Linked DNA regions of Homo sapiens: regions 1, 3, 4, 5 and 6 are each linked to region 2. The links are contacts of gene promoters, found by promoter capture Hi-C in blood cells and fetal thymus (Javierre and others, 2016). All regions are on one chromosome and are shown on one strand. The core of a region is centred on a gene start or on the middle of the fragment in contact, and the rest is flanking DNA. Distances in the headings are between cores, read along the strand shown. Region 1 overlaps RBM38 (RNA binding motif protein 38). Region 2 holds the start of RTF2 (replication termination factor 2). Region 3 overlaps SPO11 (SPO11 initiator of meiotic double strand breaks). Region 4 has its middle 25 kb from the start of RBM38-AS1. Region 5 holds the start of LOC105372688 (a long non-coding RNA gene). Region 6 overlaps RAE1 (ribonucleic acid export 1).

Region 1 (3,084 bases), core at 532-3,031, 930 kb before region 2:
ATTCTCCGATCCTCCCTCTCCTTCATCACCGACTCTCCAGGCGGGCGCAGTGGCGTGGCCCTGCCTTGGTGGTGGTGGAGACCTGCCTCCATCCCTGAATCCTTCACCCAGCAGCAGTTGGAGCTGTCTTAAAAACATCAAGACCCACGCCTGGAATCCCAGCACTTAGGGAGGCCGAGGCGGGCGGATCATGAGGTCAGGAGATTGAGACCATCCTGGCCAACACGGTGAAACCCCATCTCTACTAAAAATACAAAAATAGCTGGGCGTGGTGGTGCGTGCCTGTAATCCCAGCTACTCAGGAGGCCGAGGCAGGAGAATGGCTTGAACCCGGGAGGCGGAGGCTGCAGTGAGCTGAGATCAAGATACTGCACTCCAGCCTGGAGACAGAGCGAGACTCCGTTTCAAAAAACAAACAAACGAAAACATCAACACCCCATCACCTCCAGAAGCAGAACCCTCCAGCTGCCTCCCACTGTACCCAGAAGAAAACCCAAACTGCTCCCTTGTGGCTTCCTGCGTTATTAGGCCTCAACCTACCTCTTCTAACTCATCTCCACTTGCACTGCGCCCTCCCTGGCCACACTCCCACTGCCCTGGGCTCCTTCTGTTCCCAGATTCGACTCCTTCCCACCACAGGACCTTCGCACCTATGCACTTGCTTCTTCCCACAGCTCAAAGCTCACCCCTCAGGGGTCCACCCAGGCGGCTCTGTTTCCTTATGATCGGAAGCCCCTTCATCATCTACCTTGCACAATGTCTTCCCCACAAGAGCAGGGTCTCAGCTGCTGCGTCCCAAGTGCCCCAGCACAGCAGGTGCCCAGTGCTGAGCATCTGAGGCAGGCCCCGGCTTTGCAGGTAGCTGGGAGGCAAAAGAGCCCCCCCGTGGAATGGCCTCTGCTTCCCAGGCCAAGAGTCCCTGCCCCAAGAAGGCAGAGAAAGCAGTTCAGCCTTGAGCAGCCAGGGCTGGGCAGGCTGGAGGGACAGGCAGGCACGGCTCCACCCAGCAAGTCACAGCTAGACAGGCACAGCCCGCCAGCCTCTGCTCCCCGACCAGGTGCCTGGCGGCCCCGGGTGACCTCATCACTGCCTCTGGGGAACCACACGCCCCAGGGGGCTGCTGTGAGGATCTATTGCTTCTGTGCACCCCAGAGACTTCAGCAGCATCGACGCCTCCTTGGGCCTGAGGAATGCTGGGAGGGACAGAGGCCCTCCCTCTCCTAGGACTTTCAGCCCCAGGTCAGGGGGCAGCAGCCAAGAACCCTTGGTGAGCAAAACAGACCAGCGGCCAGGCGCAGTCAGGTAGGAGCCCAAAGGTCGGGGGACCCAATGCTCATCAGGGCTGCTCCTGTTTGGCCAGGGCCCACCGGCCTCTTTGGGCACACGGCACTTGCTCCCTCCTCTAGAAGCCACTTTGGAATCGGCCCTCTGTACGGCCGCTGCTGGAGTCCCACGCGCTCCCCAGGGTTGCAGAGCCACAGCCCAGCTGTAACCTCAAAGGAGAGGGCAGGAGCCTCCTTCCCTTCCAGTTTCCTTCCAAGTTCCGGCCTCAGAACAACCGGGCGTCTGTGCCTCCTCATCCTCTGCAGAAAACTTCTATCCTCCCACCAAGACCCCAGAGAAGGGTCTTGCACCAATCAGAGGCGGATCTGTTTACCAGAGAATTAATCCCACCACGTGTGCAAAGTCCAGGCAGAGCCAAGGAAGAAACCACAGGAATGGGTGGGACAGACCCCCCACATGCCACCCAAGCCCCACTGCAACGCTGGACACTGGGCACAGGCACCTAGCTGGGGTCCGGGGTGTCTGCGGAAGGATGACTCAGGGGTTCTCTGCTTCCCTCTAGTGCCGGAGCCTGGGCAACACCAAACCCCCAAATCACGGAGCCACTGAAACGGGCCACCATTAGGGCTGGAAAGGCCAGGCCATGCCGGGAGGGTTGGGCATGCAGGAGGAGCTGGCTCTGCCACAGCCCAGGAGAGGACAGGGGGACCCCGAGCCTGGTCCAGACTGGAAATCTGAGGTGCCTGCCTCCCTTCCCGTTCACACGTGGCCCAGGCAGCATTTGCACCCCAACACACCCAGGGTCAGCACACAGTCAAGAGCACCCCAGCTGACTCTGTCCACAGAGACTCAGGGGTCCAAGGGCAGGAAGAGCCCCAAGCCCGGATCCTGGCCATGCCTGTCCAAGTCGCATGGACCATCACTCAGCCCCTCCGGCCTCTGTTTCCCCATCTGTAAACTAAGGATGCTGCAGAGTCCAACAGATTGCCCCCAAGACAGAGGGCTTGGGCCTCCGGCAGAGTCTGAGAACCCCGTGGTGGGCGGGAGAGAGAAGTACAGATGGTGCTGGGGACACATGCTGCCCACACTCAAAGCAGAACTCGCAGCGAAAAGAACTGACCACGGCCCAGGAGGACTCATTTTCTGAACATAAAGTCGCCTCTGAAAATAAAAACGAAAAAGGCAAATGAGCCCATTTCACTTTCCCTGCTCTCCAGGGGCCTTGCCCCACCTCGGCAGAGACGGACCGCAGCTCTTAGGGTTCTGACTCCCGCCTGGCTGGGTGTGGGAAGGTCCCCGAGGCGCCTGGCAGGCAGGAAGCCAGGCCATGGCCCTGCCTCCCGGGAATCCCCAGTGACTTGTGAGGGGGAGGGCCGGGAGGTCTAGGGACATTCAAGTTCTGTGGGGCAGCCAGCCACAGGACACAGGTCGAACGCCCTCTCTGTGGGGCAATGCCAGGCCCGGAACAGCATCTCCACCTGAACCGGCCCAAACTCCAACTCCTGACCTTCTCCCCAAAACTGTACTGCACAGCTGCCTCCACCCCAGTCAGGGCCAAGCCCATCTCCCATTTCAAAGGCCCAAAGCTCCAGAATCTTCTTGGACTCCTCTTTCTTTCCCAGGTTCTTTAAAATAGACACCCAGAATCTCACTGTATCTCACCAGGGCCGCTGGTGCAGGCAGCACCCTCGTCTCATGCCTGGATTACTGGGCATCCTCTAAGGGCCTCCAACCACCACAATACCCTCGGCAGTCCAGGCTCAACCCAGCAGCCAGAAGCAAAAACACTCTGAAAACAAA
Region 2 (3,271 bases), core at 684-3,183:
CAAGGAATTTAGGTGCTCTGCGTTAGGAACCAGGGCAGATTTCACAATATTGATCCGAAATGTAAGCTCCACCAGGGCTAGACTCTGCCTTGTTCACTGCTATATCCCTGGGGCCTACAACAATGTATATATGGTAACCACTTATTAAGCATTTGTTGTGTGAATAGTTATAATAAAAATCCATCCTGCCTAGGCATTCTGGCTTTTTTGAATCGCTCTTCCTTCTTTTCTACCCTCTTCCGACACCTGTTTCTTGTCAAGCCTTTCATTAAGCTACTCCTTTTCAGCCCTGGGCACAAGAAAACAAAACTGAGCTAAACACTTTTTTGGTGAAAGCCAAAAAACCACTCATGAATGCTAATTATCCAGCATTCGCCTGTTTACATGTACGTATGATCAGAGGGTACACTTCATCCTCTTGGGTATTCATTCATTCCCATATTCACACATACTTATTAGGTGTCTATTATGTGGCTGACACATGGTAGGGGTTACAGAGGTAAGACACACAAGGTTCCTGTCTACGTGGGAAAGAGACAATAAACAACACAGTGGTAGGCACTGTTAAGAAGAGAAGAGAGAATATTGGAAGTGAGGCACATTTCAGTTACAGTGGACAGATGACATTTGAGTAAAAAACTGAATGAAGTAAAGAAACTCATCATGTGACAATCTCAGTGAAGAGTATTTCAGATTGATGAACTCACACTCCAGGTTGAAGAACAAGAGGCCTGTTTAGCTAGAACAGTATGAAAGAGGTGGAGAGGGGCAGAAGATGAGGTCAGAAACATAGGCAAGGTCTGCTCAAGGGTCTGACGAGATTTTATTCTTAATGTGATGGGAAGCCACTGGAATGCTTCAAATACAATAGTGACTTAAGGGGTTTACCTTTTAAACAAGCTCTCCAGCTCCTGAATCAGAATACATGAAGTCTCCACGTGTGCTTTACAAATATTTTTGTAAAGAAGTCTCTACTAGGTGCTTTACAAATATTTTATCATTAAAAAGTAATTACTTGTGCTAACTTTGAAATCCCAAATAAGTGGATGGGAATCCTGGCTTCACTACCTACCAGCTGTGTGATCTTAGTCACCTTAATATCCCTGGACTCAATGTCCCCGTCAGTAGCAAAGAAATTATTATAATTTCCTCGATTACTTGTGAGATCAGGGATTATTCACTCATTTGTTTATTCGAAATATTTAGTGTGCCAGGAACCATGCTAGTTGCAGAGAAAAAAAGGGTACAGCCTCTGCTATCAGGAACTTACCGTCTAGCGGGGAAGACTTGATACAAATCAACCACGTACAGCCGTGTGCAGGCTAAGACAGTTTATAAAAGGATGTGGTAAGGGAACAGTTTGGGAAGGCTTCTCTGAGCAAATGAAGTTAGTGTATACAAAACTCAGTATACACTAGGTATTTGTATTATTGCTACTAGTCGCAGGTAGGGTTCAAATCCTGGCTCTGCCATTTACTAGCTTTGCAAATTTCTCCTTTTGAGCCTCAACTTCCATGTCTGAAAATGAGGACAACAGTATGTAGCTATAGGGCTATTGTGATAATTACATGAGATACCCCCTGTTAAGATTACTGTCCAGTGAATGGCAATAGTCAGCACCCATTGAATGTCCACTCTTAATACTGTTGTTAATTTTGAGTCCTCTGAATGGAATAAAAGACCGCAGCCAGGTCTGGAACTCCGCTGGCTCCCCCTTCTTACTTCCTCTCGTTTTCTGGGGTCGTCAAATTCCCACCACCCCCGGTCGCCAAGAGCCGGCCCACATCACTGACCTTCTCAACCTTCTTCGGCCCCTTCACCAGTTCATGCCTCTTGGGGATTGTTCCCCCGTCGCAACCCATCGCAGGACGGGAGTCAGAGCCAGCAGCAAACCCCCAAAGCTGTCACTTCCGGGATTTCCGGCGAAATCCGCAGCCACTTCCGGCGCACCGCCGTGACGCAGCACGCTGGTCGTGGCGTAGCGGGGCGGGGCGGGGCGGCACGCTAGGCGCGGCGTAGCGGGGCAGGGCGAGGCCGTTACCAAGTGCCGGTTGTCATGGAGAGCGTCGCTTGGAGGCTGGGCGTGGGCGGGTTTCCTCGTTCCCGTGAGACCCTGGGTTTCTGCTGCACAATCGGAATCACTCGCCCACGCTCCGGGAGGGCAGCGAGGGCGTGGGCGGCCCGTGCGCATCCACCGCTCTTTGACCCTATCCCACGCCAGCTTGTGTGGCTGCGGAGCGGGCACATCCCTGGACTGAGAGCGCCTTGAGGAAAAGGGCCGCCCTCCTGTTTCTGCGATTAAGGATGCCTATGAACGGAATCTGCTGTATCAATGGACATTTTTGTGTTTAAAAGGAGAACGCATCTTTCTTGAGCGCCAACTGTGACTCAAGCACTCACAACAAATCTTGTGAAGTGATGTTACAACAGATTCTAGGAAGTAAGACCCTCCCTTAAGGCCTGGAACTTTCTGGTGTTGCCATGCATATTGTAGATGGCATGTGTGTGAAATTTTGCATACAGTTTGTGCGTGTGTGTATTTCATTCACAGTTTCCTGAAGCCCAGGCTAAAAAAATTTTATTAACAATCAAGTATCATTAATAGACGATATAATAGTTCTTATAAAATATACACTGATGTTGCCATGCCCGTTCCAAGAGTCAGGCTGTATTTTATCTATAAGAACACAAATCCCTTGCTAAAAATTCATGATTGTCTGTCTGCTCTTAGGCGATTGTCTATCTCTCTGTTTGTTCCTTTAATTATTATAAATATTATGGGAAAGTGCCTATAATCCCAGCACTTTGGGAGGCCGAGACGGGAGGAGCACCTGAGCCCAGGAGTTCCAGGTCAGCCTGGACAACATGGTGAGACACCATCTTGAAAGAAAAAGAAAAATTAGCCAGGCGTTGTGGTAAGCTTTTGTAGTCCTAGCGGCTCCGGAGGCTGAGGGGGTAGGAAGGATTGCCTGAGCCCAGGAATTCAAGGTTGCAGTGAGCTTATGATTATGCCACTGCACTCCAGCCTAGGCAACAGAGCAAGACTCTGTCATTAATATGTATGTATGTATGTATGTATGTATTTGTACATATATATGATGGGAAAATTTCTCCATTGCCAAGAAGGCAGATCTTTATGATTGGATATTACCCTATTGACCTACGTGAAACATAAAAACGCTGAAAATATTTTTTACTTGGGAAGAGTTGCCCAGAAAATACGTGGATGTGGAAACTTCAAGGGCTATATGTAAGCTTGGGGTACTTGTTA
Region 3 (3,394 bases), core at 536-3,035, 870 kb before region 2:
GGAAACAAGCAACTGTTATCAAGGATTGCTCACCACTTAAAGAAATCCAATAAACATGTTTAAATTCATTCTTACTGACCAATTACAACAATAAAACATTTTAAAATATCACATTAGCAGAGGTGAAAAAAAATGTTAATGCCATAAGCTGAGGGACAGGTGGACTCTTACTCTTCAGAGAAAGCAAGAAACTTAATCTATCCAGACAACAGTCAAACCCTGATTATGGGGATCCTCTTTGACCCACCAGTTCTTCTGGGAATTCAGCCTAAGGGACTAACTAAGGATGTGCATAGAGATTTAGTTACAAGAGACTGCATCAAAGCACGACCTATCAGAATAGAGATTTGGAAACCACTTAAATGGCTATGAGGGAATGGCTGAATAAACACTAGCACATCTAGAGTTAAAACTCAGCAACAAAAGATGCTAAAATAAGAAATGTACTTTATTGACATGGAAAAGTGATCACATTATTTTGTTGTGTTTTAAAAAAAGCAGATTATAAAATAACAGAGTATGATCTCAGTTTTGTGAAAAAGTTATGGCTATGCACAGAAAAAAAATCTACAAAGGTAAGGCTGCTGATCTGTAGGTGATATTTAACTTGTTGCTTAATATTTTTTTCTATAATGAACATATATAATAAACTTGCCAAACTTGAAGTTCCCAAATTTTAATACTCTTAAAATGATATTTTTCTTTTGAAGTTAAAAATTTAAATCTATGACAAAAATTGATTCATATGGCAAATGATGTTGTCAATGGTTACAATTTAATTGGATTTACTATATTGTACTTTTTTTTTTTTGGAGACAGAGTCAAGCTCTGTCACCCAGGCTGGAGTGCAGTGGTGCGATCGTGGCTCACTGCAACTGCCGTCTCCCAGGTTCAAGCAATTCTTGGGCCTCAGCCTTCCCGGTAGCTGGGATTACAGGCATACACCACCACCACACCCAGCTAATGTTTGCATTTTTAGTAGAGACAGGGTTTTGTCACGTTGCCCTGGCTGGTCTCAAACTCCTGGCCTCAAGTGATCCGCCCACCTTGGCCTCCCAAAGTGCTGGGATTACAGGCGTCAGCCACCATGTGCCCGGCCTACAATGTATTGTACTTTTAAGTATAAAAAGTGTATAAAATGTCTTAACCATAAAAGTAAAACAGAAAGTTTTAGCTAGCTGAAAGTGTAACACATTAACCAAATTCATGTGTTAAATATTTTAGTAGTTGAAACAGAAACATTAATGAATTTAATTCATAATTACATAATCATAAGTCATCGTGGACAATATAAATAAAAAACATTAAGAGCTTTCCCTTGTAGTGACTTTTTAGGCTTATTGTTACATATGATAATGAACTGTCATTTTAAATATCCTAGTTCTGCTATACTATCTAACCTTTTAAGATCAGAAGGGAGAAGACCAAGCCATCTAATAGCTGGAACTGTGAGATGATGAGCTTCAAAAGACATAGACTAAAATAAAGAACAAAAGTATATTAGGTGAGGCTAAATTGTAGAAAACTAGCATTCTTGTTTTTCAGTCAAATTTTTCACTTATTAAGAAGGACAAGTACTAAAGCTGGCTTCACATGCCCAGAGCCCACAGAAGTAAGAAAACCATCAGGGGCTATGCTAAGCTGGGCTTTTAGTGAAGGTGTTAAAACTTCTCTGGGTTAAGTGCGGTGGCTCATGCTTGTAATCCCAGTACTTTGGGAGACCAAGGCGGGAGGATGGCTTGAGCTCAAAAGTCCAAGGTTGCAGTGAGCTGTCACTGCACCACCGCACTCCAGCCTGGATGACAGAGTGAGACCCTGTCTCAAAACAGCAACAAAACAACAACCACAACTTCTATATAGTGTTTCTGTATTAATTTTCTAAAGCAAACTATAAATGAAGCCCTCTGACCTACATTTCTTATTGTTCATGATTCCCCATCTTACACCCTGCTCCACCATCCTTTTCATCTGCTATAAATTTCACCATGCATCAGAATGCTTGGAGGATCCCACCCCTAGAGATTTTGGCTCAGTAGTTCTGGATGGGGACTGAGATTTGCATTTCTAAGAATCTTCCAGATGATGCTGATGCTCCTGGCTTAGGACCACACTGTGAGACCACTGGTATATGGTAATTGTAGACACTGGTGGTGACATTTATTGTTTCCATTTCTCCTTATGGTGGGAGAAAAGGGATTAGAAAAGTCAGAATTCAAGGCTCTATATAATATTTCGAGTATATTTGGTGATCAGACAGCGTTGTTGTCACCCCAGAGCCCCACAGTTCCTTCAGTATGCCAAGAGAGTGCAGGATAATAATGCTGCTTGCCCACAGCTAATCCCACTCTGTCATCTGTGTTTGCACTGGTCATACTGGGAGCTGGAGTCACAGCCACCGACACACAGATTGCTCCTAGAATAGGATACTAGGCCCTCAGGTACACTTTGGGCACTCTCAGCCTGCTTGGGGGTGATTAATAAATGCAGAAATCACCTCAATGAATATAAAATGTCTAAATAATAAAAAAGGAAAACTGCTTTTCTATACTTACCATAGATCCATACTTATAGATGCACATTATTTCTATGCCTGTTAAAAGAAAGTTAACTATAAAATTAGTCTCCTTACATATTACAGGTTAATTTGCACTCTCAAATTTTATCTATCTATAATTTTAATTTTGTGGACATCACCAGTGAAAAATTTATCATTCTCAGTTTAATATGACAAAGTAACGATAAATTGTGTCAAATAATTATAGACCAAATTTTAATGTAATCATTTTCTTTTAAAATGTTTCATAAGTGTCCCGAGAGTAGAAAACACAACTACAGGCTGGGCACGGTGGTTCCTGCCTGTAATCCCAGCACTTTGGGATGCCGAGGTGGGCAGATTACCTGAGGTCAGGAGTTCGAGACCAGCCTGGCCAACATGGTAAAACCCCGTCTCTACTAAAAATATAAAAAATTAGCCAGGCATGGTGGCATGTGCCTATAGTTCCAGCTACTCAGGAGGCTGAGGCAGGAGAATCACTTGAACCCAGGAGGTGGAGGTTGCAGTGAGCCAAGATCGCGCCATTGCACTCCTGGGTGACAGAGCAGGACTCAATCTCAAAAAGAAAAAAAAAAAAAGAGGAAGAAAACACAACAACAAATATGATTTAGTTATGACTATTGTTGTAAATAGTCCAGTGATAAATTACCATGTGGATCAGCATCTACAAGAGTGAAAACAGGAACATGAAATGTATCCCACAGTTTCTTGACTAAAAGTCTTGTGTTTAGATCAGGAACTCCCTTTCCCTAAAAGGAAGATGAAAATTAAGAATTTTAACTTCAGTAGAATAAAATGGTTACAATTATACTCTTATTAATAATTTAAAAGTTAGGCTGG
Region 4 (3,358 bases), core at 170-2,669, 950 kb before region 2:
CGCATGTTCTCACTCATAGGTGGGAACCAAACAGTAAGAACGCTTGGACACAGGGCAGGGAACATCACACACACCGGGACCTGTTGGGGGCTGGGGTGCTGAGGGAGGGATAGCATTAGGAGAGATACCTAATGTAAATGACAAGTTAATGGGTGCAGCAAACCAACACGGCACATGTATACATATGTAACAAACCTGCACATTGTGCACACGTACCCTAGAACTTAAAGTATAAAACAAACAAACAAACAAACAAACAAAAGAACCTTTGTGTCCAAGTTTTGGTGTGGAAGCTTTTATTTCTCTTGGGTTTTTTGAGGAGTGGACTCTCTGGGTCACATGGTAGCTCTCTCTGTTTAATCATTTGAAGAACCTGCCAGCTTGTTTTTTCTATTTTCCATTCCCAGCAGCAGTGTGTGTGGGGGTCCAGTTCCCCCACATCCTCGCCAGCACCTGAGTTTCTCTGACTTTTTCATCCCATCCTAGTGAATGCGAAGTGGTAGCTCATCTCTTTCCTTTGATTTGTGTTTAGTGTTATTCTTTTAAACCAGTTTACCTTATAATAAAATTCAGCCCCACATTGTACTCTGCGGAGGATTTTGGAGCCCTGTAAAGTAAGAGGAAGGGGCTCCCAACCCCCTACTCTAACCAGCTGTAACCCAAGGGGATTAACAAAAAACATATTTTACACTGACCCATCAAAACCCTGAAAGGAAAACAAACGTGAATTCTTCATCCAACTACAGACAGCAGAGTCTGTTTTCACTGCCGAAGAAACTAAACAGAAAAGTAAAGAAAAAATAGAAACATTTTAAAAAGAAAAGAAACTAAACACAGAGCTTCTTTTATTCTCAGGCCAGGCTTTGCCTTAGTATCAGTCAGAAGCGCTTAAAAAAATACTCATGCCAGGCGCTTCTCCCAAAGACTGGGTTCCGGGTGGGGCACAGGCAGCATTGCTTTTAGCAGCTCCTGCAGCTCAGTTCTCAGGTGCAGCCAGGGCTGGAAGCCCTGATAACAGGATTGCTCTGCGGCAGGGCTGCAAGGAGCCTTCTCAGGTCATGGTCACGAAGATGCGGCTGTGGCTTTGGGCGGGGTCTGAGAGTCCGGTCGAGGTTGGAGGCAGTGAGCAAGGGGATGCTATTGGTATTAACACCAGTCCAGCGAGATCCCAAGATCCTCAGAGCTGGGGGTGGGGAGGTGGGGAACCCATCGAGTCTCCCGAGCGATTAACCAGCTCAACACAAAGGGCCCGGAAGCAGAGAGGGCACTTTCTCAGGGCAGGGTTGATAGGACCGTAGCAGCAGCACGGATCCTAATAAAGGTGGGCCCACCTTCAACTTCTCCCTCAAACCTGGCCCTAAGTGCTTGTTCTACTTCGTGTTCTAGGAGGCACTACAAAGTATTATTATTTCCTTTCTATTAATGAGGAAACTGAGGATCAGAGAAGGTGAGTGACTTACCTAAGGTCACACAGCTTGTCAGGAAAGAAACTCAGATTCACATTCAGGTCTGATTCCAAACACTTGAATTATTAACCCTTGTGCTAGATCATCCCCTGAGGCAAAGCTAACTCTGCTGGAGTAGAAGGGCTGGCACATGCCACAACATGGATGAACTTTGAAAACCTGATGCAAAATAAAAGAAGCCAAACCCCCAAGATCACATATTGCATGGACATTCTTAAGAAATGTCCAGAATAGGCAAATCCATAGAATGTGGATTATTATTCTATTATTATTATTATCTAGTATTATTATTTCCTTTCTAATAATGAGGAAACTGAAGATCAGAGAAGGTGAGTGACTTACCTAAGGTCACACAGCTTGTCAGGAAAGAAACTCAGATTCACATTCAGGTCTGATTCCAAACACTTGAATGATTAACCCTTGTACCAGACCATCCCCTGAGGCAAAGCTAACTCTGCTGGAGTAGGGACCAAGGTTGAAGATATCTCTATCTTTCCATTCATCCCCCCATCCATCCCTTCCTTTATCCATCACTCCCTCCCTCCCTCCATTTCATCTTCCATCAATCCTCCCAATCACCCTCCCTCCCTCCATCCATTCCCCATCCATTTCTCCATTCATGTATCCATCAATCCTCCCATTCACACTCCTTCCCTCTATCCGTTTCTCCATTCATCTGTCCATCAATCCTCCCATTCACCCTCCCTCCCTCCATCCATTCCCCAACCATTTCTCCATGCATATATCCATCTATCCTCCCATTCACCCTCCATCCATACATCTCTATCCATTCCTCCACCCATTCTTTTTCCCTTTCTTCAGTCCCTCCCTCCCTCCATCTGTCACATAATTGCATAACTGTCCTCTAGAAAGACGTCAAGGGGGATAAAGCACGTGTGTACACGGTTCCTGCTTCCTCCTCTACTTGGCTCTCCTGTGACTCCTAACCGACAAGTTAAAATGCCTGCCAGGGTTCAATGAGAGGCACAGTAAAGATTGGTGGGGACTGGAGCAAACTGGAGAGCACGGGTGTCACTGCTGCTGTGAGGAACTCTGGGCCCAGCATTGTGAGAAGCTTCTGTTCATGGTGGCTTTTTTCCTTCCACCGTACTCTGTGGCCATCTCTCCGTGTCGGGAAATAGACTTCCACAGTATCATTCTTAGTGGCTCTGTGGCCTTTCTCCCTGTGGCCACACCAGAATACAGGTCATTGTCTCCTCCCATGGAGACCCCAGCTGCAGGTTAGGAGGGCAGCTTTGGCATCAGATCCCCCGGGGTTTGGAGCCCAGCTCTGCCAGCTACTCACTGTGTGACCCTGGGAAAACTCCCTGACTAGCCTGAGCCTCAGTGTCTGCATCTATAAAGTGGGTTGTTGTGTGGATTTGATGAGCCCATGCTGCTGAGTGGTGGGCACAGGGCCTGGCACAAGCCCAGTGCTGGATAAGTTCAGGCTTCTCTGCCCTGCCCACCCTGAGGATGAGGACTACAGCTCCCCACGCCCCCGGTTACCTTGCAGGCTTTTGCTAAACCTCAGCTTGAGATTCAGGACTGTGGCCTTCATGGGCCACACCTCCACCTAGGCCTGTGGGAGCCAAGCAGCCTTTGGTGACGTTCCGCTCTCCCGTGGTTCAGGAGGGCTTGTGCTTGCAAGCTGGGCAGAGGCTGTCCACACCTGCGCAGGGCGAGCCATCCCAGGGCACGCTGGCTGCTGGGGAGCACGGTCCTGCCACTGCGTGGGAGGGTAGGAACCCCAGGCTCAGCCCATTTCCCAGGAGCGAGGTTGTCAGGCCCAGGGAGGAGGAAGAAGAGGCAGCCCAGACTCATGCCTAGGACGCTCTGAGGCCAGGCCCTTATCCCAGAGACAGCTGCTTGGAAAGAAAAACAAATGAGAG
Region 5 (3,207 bases), core at 598-3,097, 990 kb before region 2:
GCCCAGTGCAAGATGAAAACGAAAGGGCCCTGTTCAAAGGAGTCCTTAAACCAACAGTGACCAGTAAGGCATTAAACCAATCATGAGGTCCTTTGGAGTGTGGGGTCCTTTGGCACGTGGGGTCCTTCCAGAGTGCAGGTGTCTATATGACCACCCAAGTCACATGCCCACAAAGCCACCTTCGTTCAGGCATCTCTTGGCTTTCAGACAATGCAACCCAGAGACGGCTTTCAACAGATGCCTTCATCCCAGGCCTGGCTCCTCCAGCCTCCCCCGGAGTTCCCCTTTGGTCAAAGTGCAAGTCAATCAAGAGGTCAGAGTGACCCACCCCATTGTCAAGAAGGGCAGTGGGAGGAACTGTGGGAAAAGTCAAATTGTCACCAGGCAGCTACAGGAGATAAGCTAGTCAGTGGCCTGCGGCCAGCATGCTGTCCGCCGTTCCCCATGGTACTTCTCTGCATCCCGCATTCCCAGAAGAGAATCAGCTCCCAGGCAGGCCATGTCCACTCTGTCCTGGGCAGCAGCTGGGCACATTGTGCCTTCTACATGCCCATTAACCACGCTGCAGGATGGAACCCAGCACTGGAAGGACCTGCTGTTCCAGAGACATTCCCAGGACAGCCCTGGGACGCCTCTGGCCAATGGCGGCCAGGAGGACAGGCCCTGGCCCGCAGACTCAGGGATGTGCGCTGGGGAAGGCTCCTGCACGATTACACCTGGGGACCCACGGGACGCCTTCAGATGGGGCACATAGGGGAGGGGGAGGTGGCAGGTCCCCCCAGCACAAAGCAAAGGGACCCTGGTGACAGCAGGGAGGCAGTCAGGGGCTAGTGGTGGGGAGGCGGGTGGCAAGAGGAGCAAGGGAGCCTAGGGCAGGGGTTAACTCCTCACCTCACATCGGAGCCAGCCGAGGCAGCCGCAGATGAGGACCAGGCCCCCATCACAGGGTGCCCAGACTGCAGAGCGATTACAGGGGGCCGCACCCCCCATAAAGTACACCCCGGCCATGCAGAAGTTCTCCTAACAGTCACGGTGCCAGGCAACCACCCACCCGATGCTGCTCCACAGGCAGAACAGCCGCTCACCCACAGCAACGGCAGTGTCTGAACCCAGGTTCACGTCCGGCTCAGGTTCCTCTGTCTGAAATGACGGCTGTGGGCTCCTCCTGGCCAGGCCAGCAAGGTTGCGTGTGTCTCCTCTTACCTCAGCGCCAGGAGCGCAGGAGCCCAGGAGAAGTGCCCGGGGTAAAAAGGACACCCCAGTGAGGGCAGGAGGCATCACTTAACTGTTTTTCTAAGTCAAATGAAACTTGATTTCCCACAGGGAAGTGCCGGGCAGCCCCACAGGCCCTGAGCTCAGAGTGCCGCCTTGCTGTGAGGCTCTGCTGCCCCGGCCTGGAAGTCCTCCATTGTTCTGAACCAGAGGCTCCCCGTTTTCATTCTGCCCTGGGCCTTACAAATCACACAGCCAGTCCTGCCCCACTGCCTCCAGGTAATGTAAAGACTCAGGGTCTTGCCCCAGGTGGAACGAACATTCCAGGAGCTGGCTGGTCTTCAGTTCACACTGTCTACCTTTAAGTGCTCATTGTCAGAGGCTGCTGACCCCTAGACAGGGTGGATCTGCAGCCTCTGGCTGAGCTGAGGCTGGAGAACTTGGCAGCACCTGGAGTCCCTGAGACTGGGGGAGGCCAGTGCTGCTGGGCGACAGTGCCCTAGGGAAACGGTCTCCCCAGGCATAGACCCCCCTCACCTCCTCTCCCCTTCCCTTCCCAGTCTTGGGAAGTCTCCTTCTTCCCCTGAGACCGTTGCATTTCTGCTGCCCCTCCCTCTATTCACCCATCTCAGGGAGCGGCTACTAGTTCCCCCTCCCCTCTCCCCGACCCCCAACCCTCCACCCGCAGCCCCACTGGCTTCATAGTCCCCTCAGTCGCTTCTGGCCCCTGGATGGTGTGGGATGGGGCGGTGCTTACACCACTCCACTTTCTCGCCAGATGGGGAAGACAACTGTTGTTTCTGCCACCCCCACCCCCAGTATGCATTGCCACATTTTCTGGAAACAGCACTCAGGATTTTCTGAGAGGGCCCCCCCCCCACCACCACAGCTTGAATTCCTGTAGTCTGGGGAGGTAAAACCCCACTCTCAAAGCCCAAGGTAGACATGTGACTCAGTCCTGGCCAATCAGATTATTTCATCCCGCAGGACTCAGTGATTGGCTTAGGGATGGGAACAGGACTCACATCAGTCCAACAGGAGTTAATTCTGCGCCACTATTGGGAAGAAAGAATTTGACTTTCTATTGGAAGGGGAGGTGGGAGGAAGTAAGCCCTGGGCTGCCAGGGGCTGACTGAAAAAGGTGGGAGAGTAAGAGATGGAGAAAAATCAAGTCCTGATGACAGCATTTGAGCCCCTGGATCCATCTGTGCCTGAAGGCAGGAAGCGCCCAGACCATGTCAGTTACACACAAATCGTTTTTCTTAAACCCGTTGAGTCTGGTTTTGTGTCACTCAAGACAGAAAGAGCCCTTAGCAGTGTGCTATCTCCCTCTCTTGCAAAGGTTACAGCCACACAGGAGCTGAATCCACACTGGATTACCAAACACAGTGCCCAAGACTTGGAGAAATTCCCAAAGCTGGCTGAGGGAAGGCTTTGGAAAGGGGCCCATGCCTCTTGCTAACTTTTCTTTCTGAGGCACTGTGGCTGGGAATCCTTCCAGAGAGAAGCCTTGTCTTCCTTCACAGCACAGAAAGGCCCCCATCCCCTTGTGGGAGGCAGAATTCTAAGATGGCCCAGAATCCCAGCCCCTGCTGTAGACTCCCTGTATAACCCCCTTCCCTGAAATGTGGGCAGGACTGTAGATATGGTGGCGTATCATGCCATGAGAAAATTACTACTTAGTTGACTTGCAGTTCCTCAAAAGGGAGATGGTTCTGGGTGGGCCTGGCTTAAGCAGATGAGCTCTTAAAAGGAACTGAGCCTTTCTTGAAGTCAGAGATTGGACGTGTGAAAGGGCCCCAGGAGGGATCACGTGATAAGGACCTGTGAGTAGCCTCTAGAAACCGACAGCAGTCCCAGCCAACAGCTGGACAGACAACAGGGACCTCAGTCCTATGGCTGCAGGGAAATGAATCCTGCCATCAACCAGAGGGAGCTTGAAAGTGGATTTTCCCCAGTTGAGCCTCCAAATGAGAATGCAGCCCAGCCACCACC
Region 6 (3,443 bases), core at 385-2,884, 910 kb before region 2:
AGCCCCCTGTTCTTAATTGCAATGTTATAAGGTTATTTCAAATATAATTAATATAATCATCCCTCCCATTTTGGGGAGACCTCAAGTGCAGTTATGGCTTAGTACTTGAGGTCACCGAAGCTAAGAACTCATCCTAAACCATACAAAAAGTGACAGGCACAGAGAAGAATCCCACCCCAGGATATGAAAATATCTCATACATACATAGATTCTGTGATTTTGTGTGGCTCCACTAAAAGAAACGCTCACTGCAACAACTACGTTCATTTCACAACCTACGAATGGGTCATGAGTGAATTCGGAAAAGGCTGGCTTAGGCACTCCCGAGTGTTCAAGAACATGTGTTTAGTTCATGTTTTAGAGTCTCTCCTCCAAAAGAGACGAAAATTTTGGTTGAATGAGAAAAACAAACATTTCCTACATGACTCAATAAAATTTCTTTGAGACAGGGTCTTGCTTTGTTGCCCAGGCTGGTCTGGAACTCCTGGCCTCAAGTGATCCTCCCGCCTTGGCCTCCCAAAGTGCTGAGACTCCAGGCGTGAGCCACCACGCCTGGCCCTTGCTGTTTACCTTCTCTTGGTGGTGATTTTCTGGTGAAAGTCAGCAAGCTCACTGCCAGCAGGCCAGGCACTTGCCGCATCCTTTGTTCTTCCTCTGCCAGAGGATCTCTGGTGTGAAGCTAACCCGAAAACGGGGTGAGGCAGGCGGGTTCAGCTGGCCCCTTTGACTGAGAGGGTTTTCACAGGCAGGCTCACATGCACACGTGCACACACGTGAGCACAGGCTCACAGACAGGTGTCTCACACAAACCCACCACAGCTCCATCCTGCTTCCAACCAAACATGACAGGAACCGAGTGCACCTTCCTGTGCCCACCCTAAATCCCTGCCACCTTGTTGCAGCAGCATCTTTACACAAAGTTCTTCCCATGAGGCCCTGTTCCCACAGTGAGGAACCAAGGAAGCGATGTTACAACAAAGACTGGGAGGAAAGCCAGGCAAAACCAAGCAGAAAATCAAGGGAAAGGTGAGTGTTCATGGTGGCATCCTGGTGGCAGGCAGATGGCAGGTGTATGTTCACTGCCAAAACCCTTTCCACTTTTGTGGATGTTTTAAAATTTTCATATGTTGGAAAAAATTAAGTGAAAGAACACAATTTGTCTTCTCCATGAGGTTTATATACTTTACTTTCAACGAAAGCAGCTCTTAACAGGGTGTGCAGTCAATATTTAATGGCAGGACGGCTTGACATTTAGTGAAACAAAGAGCCAAGATTACACTAGTATCTCTTTGAAGTAGAAGATGCCATCAAACTTATGAATACTTAATGAGCACCTACTGCATGCAACTTACAGGTGCCTGCAAAGATGCTGAAGTTTAAGATGAAGAGTTCCTCTAAGACTTCATATGCATTTTAGGAAACATGAACATAAATATTTGAAGAAGCTTAACGATCTCAGTGAATACTTCCTAGATCCTCATTAGCAAACATGTAGTGTGCTTTTATGCTTTAGGTCCTGGGCAGCAGAGAAATGAGCCTGGGCCTCATCTAGGGTTCACATCCTGGTGGCAGCAGAGCTCCCTCCCAGGTTCTGACAGCCCAGTCCAATCTTGGATTTATGCAAATGTTTTAAATTTGCCAATTACAAAAACTATCCCCTTGGGGAGGTGGCAAGGTCCCATCCTGGGAAAGCGCACTCTAAAAGGCCTGCAATTTAGACTCATTTTCCACCCTAGCCCGTCACTAGGGGTGGTAAAAACAATGAAACTCTGGCTAAGCTAAAGCTGAATATGAAAGTTGGCTGCTGAGATAATCAAGCTTCAATCTCCCCTCACAGCAGTCTTATGCTAGCTAGATCTTCCCCACGTTGATAAGACCACAGGCTTGATTCATAAAGTGAAGAGGAAAATGAGCTGGAAACCGTTAACCTGAAAATTCAGATATTTTTCTAGTGCACCTGCTTTTTTATCTCTAAAAAATAAGTTTTCGGGCTAAAAAAACAGGGCTGGAGAGTGGGTGGGTCTGAATTCATTGTGACCTACCAAAGAATTTAAACCACTGAGTGCAGGTGGTCTCTTCCAGTAGAAAATTTTATTTTCATTGTTTTTTATGAGTAGGCAAACACATCTTACAACACTATCGATACTAGAATTTTACACTCAGCAAGTCAGACTTCACACATTAGTCCAAACAGAAAGGCCTAAGAAGCATTTGAGATCACAGGTGAGAAATACAGTGACAGACCCAAAAGTCACACTTTTTCTCAGCCCAGCTGAATTTCATTTTGAATACTTACCAACCAGGAATTTTAAATTACACAAAATACAAAAGAACAGCCAAACAACCACTACTGAGGGTTCAGGGCAATTCCCATGCAGGGGACCGGGGTGGGTAAGAGTTCAGGGCAATTCCCATGCAGGGGGCTTGGGTTCTAACTTGAAAGTCACGCAAGTGTCACCCACTTGGGCCTTAGGAGGTTACCCACAAATGGCCTGTCACCCAGCACAAGTAACAGTCCCCATTTGAGTCACTCGGAAATCTGAGCAGCAAGGCCAGAAAGCACTGGGGATTTTGAAGATGGGAATGAGGGAAGCAAGGAAAAACACATTCAAACTCTGCCCACCAGGGCTCACAGAGGCTGCCGTTCCGCGCAGCAGAAGTGAGCGCAGCTGGGGACTCCCTTTCCCCTAAGGTTGCCGCATTTCCCAGAGGGTGTCTGAAATCTCAACTCAAAACCCCACGCTGATGCTGGGCAGGACGCATGTTCCTGAGGTTACGGGGTGGGCAAGGGGAGAAAAGGACAAAGGAAGCTCGGGAAGCAATCTGCAAAAGACTTTATTACAAAATACAGCACGGGGCTCACAGACGCTTTTCCAATATTCTCTAACACGTACACTGAAGCGCTGCAAAATCCCTGGCGGTGCCCGCAATCTAACGTCTACAATAACCTCAACCCCCTTAGTTACAGAAAAACTCTGCAACAGGCAGTGGAATGGAGAGACGGCAAGTCGCCGCGGACGCCTGGGCTCTCAGCTGCTGAACAATGACATCGTTTTCTCCAGGGGTTGAAATCCATGTCCATGGCTGACAACCCAACAAGGCTGGGACCCAAATTCGTACAGAGATGAGGCAGAGTGGAGAGAAACAACTCTGGCTGAGCCAGAGTCTCCAGCCACTACTTCTTATTCCTGGGCTTTAGCTCTTCGGCTGCATTACGCAGGAAAATGTAATTTTTTTTCTGGGGATTATAAAATTCATGTCCCTAAAGAGAGCAAAAAACACCAATGATCTTATTATTCAAAAGAAAGTTAGCATTTGTAGGTGCTTTTTCTAGGTGAAGTCCTGTGCTACAATACTGGAAACATATAATCTCTCAGAGAAATAAAACAACAAAGATAAAGTCAAATGCGAAGCAGAACTTCAGTCCTCAGAGAAAGGCCTAA

What was found. The method cuts DNA at HindIII sites, captures the fragments that hold promoters and counts their contacts. A CHiCAGO score of 5 or more calls a contact.
Region 1: a contact is called between a fragment that was not itself captured here and the fragment with the promoter of RTF2 in region 2, in 2 of 17 cell types (neutrophils and naive CD8 T cells). The highest score is 5.8, in neutrophils.
Region 3: a contact is called between a fragment that was not itself captured here and the fragment with the promoter of RTF2 in region 2, in 2 of 17 cell types (naive CD8 T cells and naive CD4 T cells). The highest score is 5.8, in naive CD8 T cells.
Region 4: a fragment that was not itself captured here is called in contact with the fragment with the promoter of RTF2 in region 2 in 1 of 17 cell types (naive CD8 T cells); the score reaches 5.8 in naive CD8 T cells.
Region 5: a contact is called between a fragment that was not itself captured here and the fragment with the promoter of RTF2 in region 2, in 1 of 17 cell types (neutrophils). The highest score is 5.9, in neutrophils.
Region 6: a fragment that was not itself captured here is called in contact with the fragment with the promoter of RTF2 in region 2 in 5 of 17 cell types (naive CD8 T cells, M2 macrophages, total CD4 T cells and 2 more); the score reaches 8.7 in naive CD8 T cells.

The regions. Positions count from the first base shown.
Region 1 is chr20:57,399,289-57,402,372 of GRCh38, reverse strand. All of the region lies in intron 3 of RBM38 (RNA binding motif protein 38), which reads right to left. Among named protein-coding and RNA genes, the nearest start is that of RBM38-AS1, 7.8 kb to the right of the region's middle. RefSeq lists enhancers at 1,462-1,561, 1,544-2,407. The HindIII fragment of the contact is 5,250 bases long and covers 1-3,084 here.
Region 2 is chr20:56,467,289-56,470,559 of GRCh38, reverse strand. RTF2 (replication termination factor 2) reads right to left here and starts at 1,933. Exons shown (of 9, transcript NM_016407.5): 1 at 1,794-1,933. The coding sequence starts at 1,862. The HindIII fragment of the contact is 9,363 bases long and covers 1-2,922 here.
Region 3 is chr20:57,338,185-57,341,578 of GRCh38, reverse strand. It overlaps SPO11 (SPO11 initiator of meiotic double strand breaks), which reads right to left. Exons shown (of 13, transcript NM_012444.3): 9 at 3,204-3,303; 10 at 2,553-2,590; 11 at 1,401-1,477. Among named protein-coding and RNA genes, the nearest start is that of SPO11, 10 kb to the right of the region's middle. The HindIII fragment of the contact is 7,175 bases long and covers 1-3,394 here.
Region 4 is chr20:57,416,250-57,419,607 of GRCh38, reverse strand. No RefSeq gene overlaps it. Among named protein-coding and RNA genes, the nearest start is that of RBM38-AS1, 25 kb to the right of the region's middle. The HindIII fragment of the contact is 2,248 bases long and covers 296-2,543 here.
Region 5 is chr20:57,458,385-57,461,591 of GRCh38, reverse strand. LOC105372688 (a long non-coding RNA gene) reads right to left here and starts at 1,332. Exons shown (of 3, transcript XR_936911.3): 1 at 892-1,332. RefSeq lists an enhancer at 185-479. The HindIII fragment of the contact is 5,537 bases long and covers 1-3,207 here.
Region 6 is chr20:57,377,832-57,381,274 of GRCh38, reverse strand. RAE1 (ribonucleic acid export 1) reads right to left here. Exons shown (of 12, transcript NM_003610.4): 12 at 2,073-3,262. The coding sequence ends at 3,176. LOC124904938 (a long non-coding RNA gene) reads left to right here. Exons shown (of 2, transcript XR_007067671.1): 1 at 1-3,443. Among named protein-coding and RNA genes, the nearest start is that of RBM38, 12 kb to the left of the region's middle. The HindIII fragment of the contact is 373 bases long and covers 1,448-1,820 here.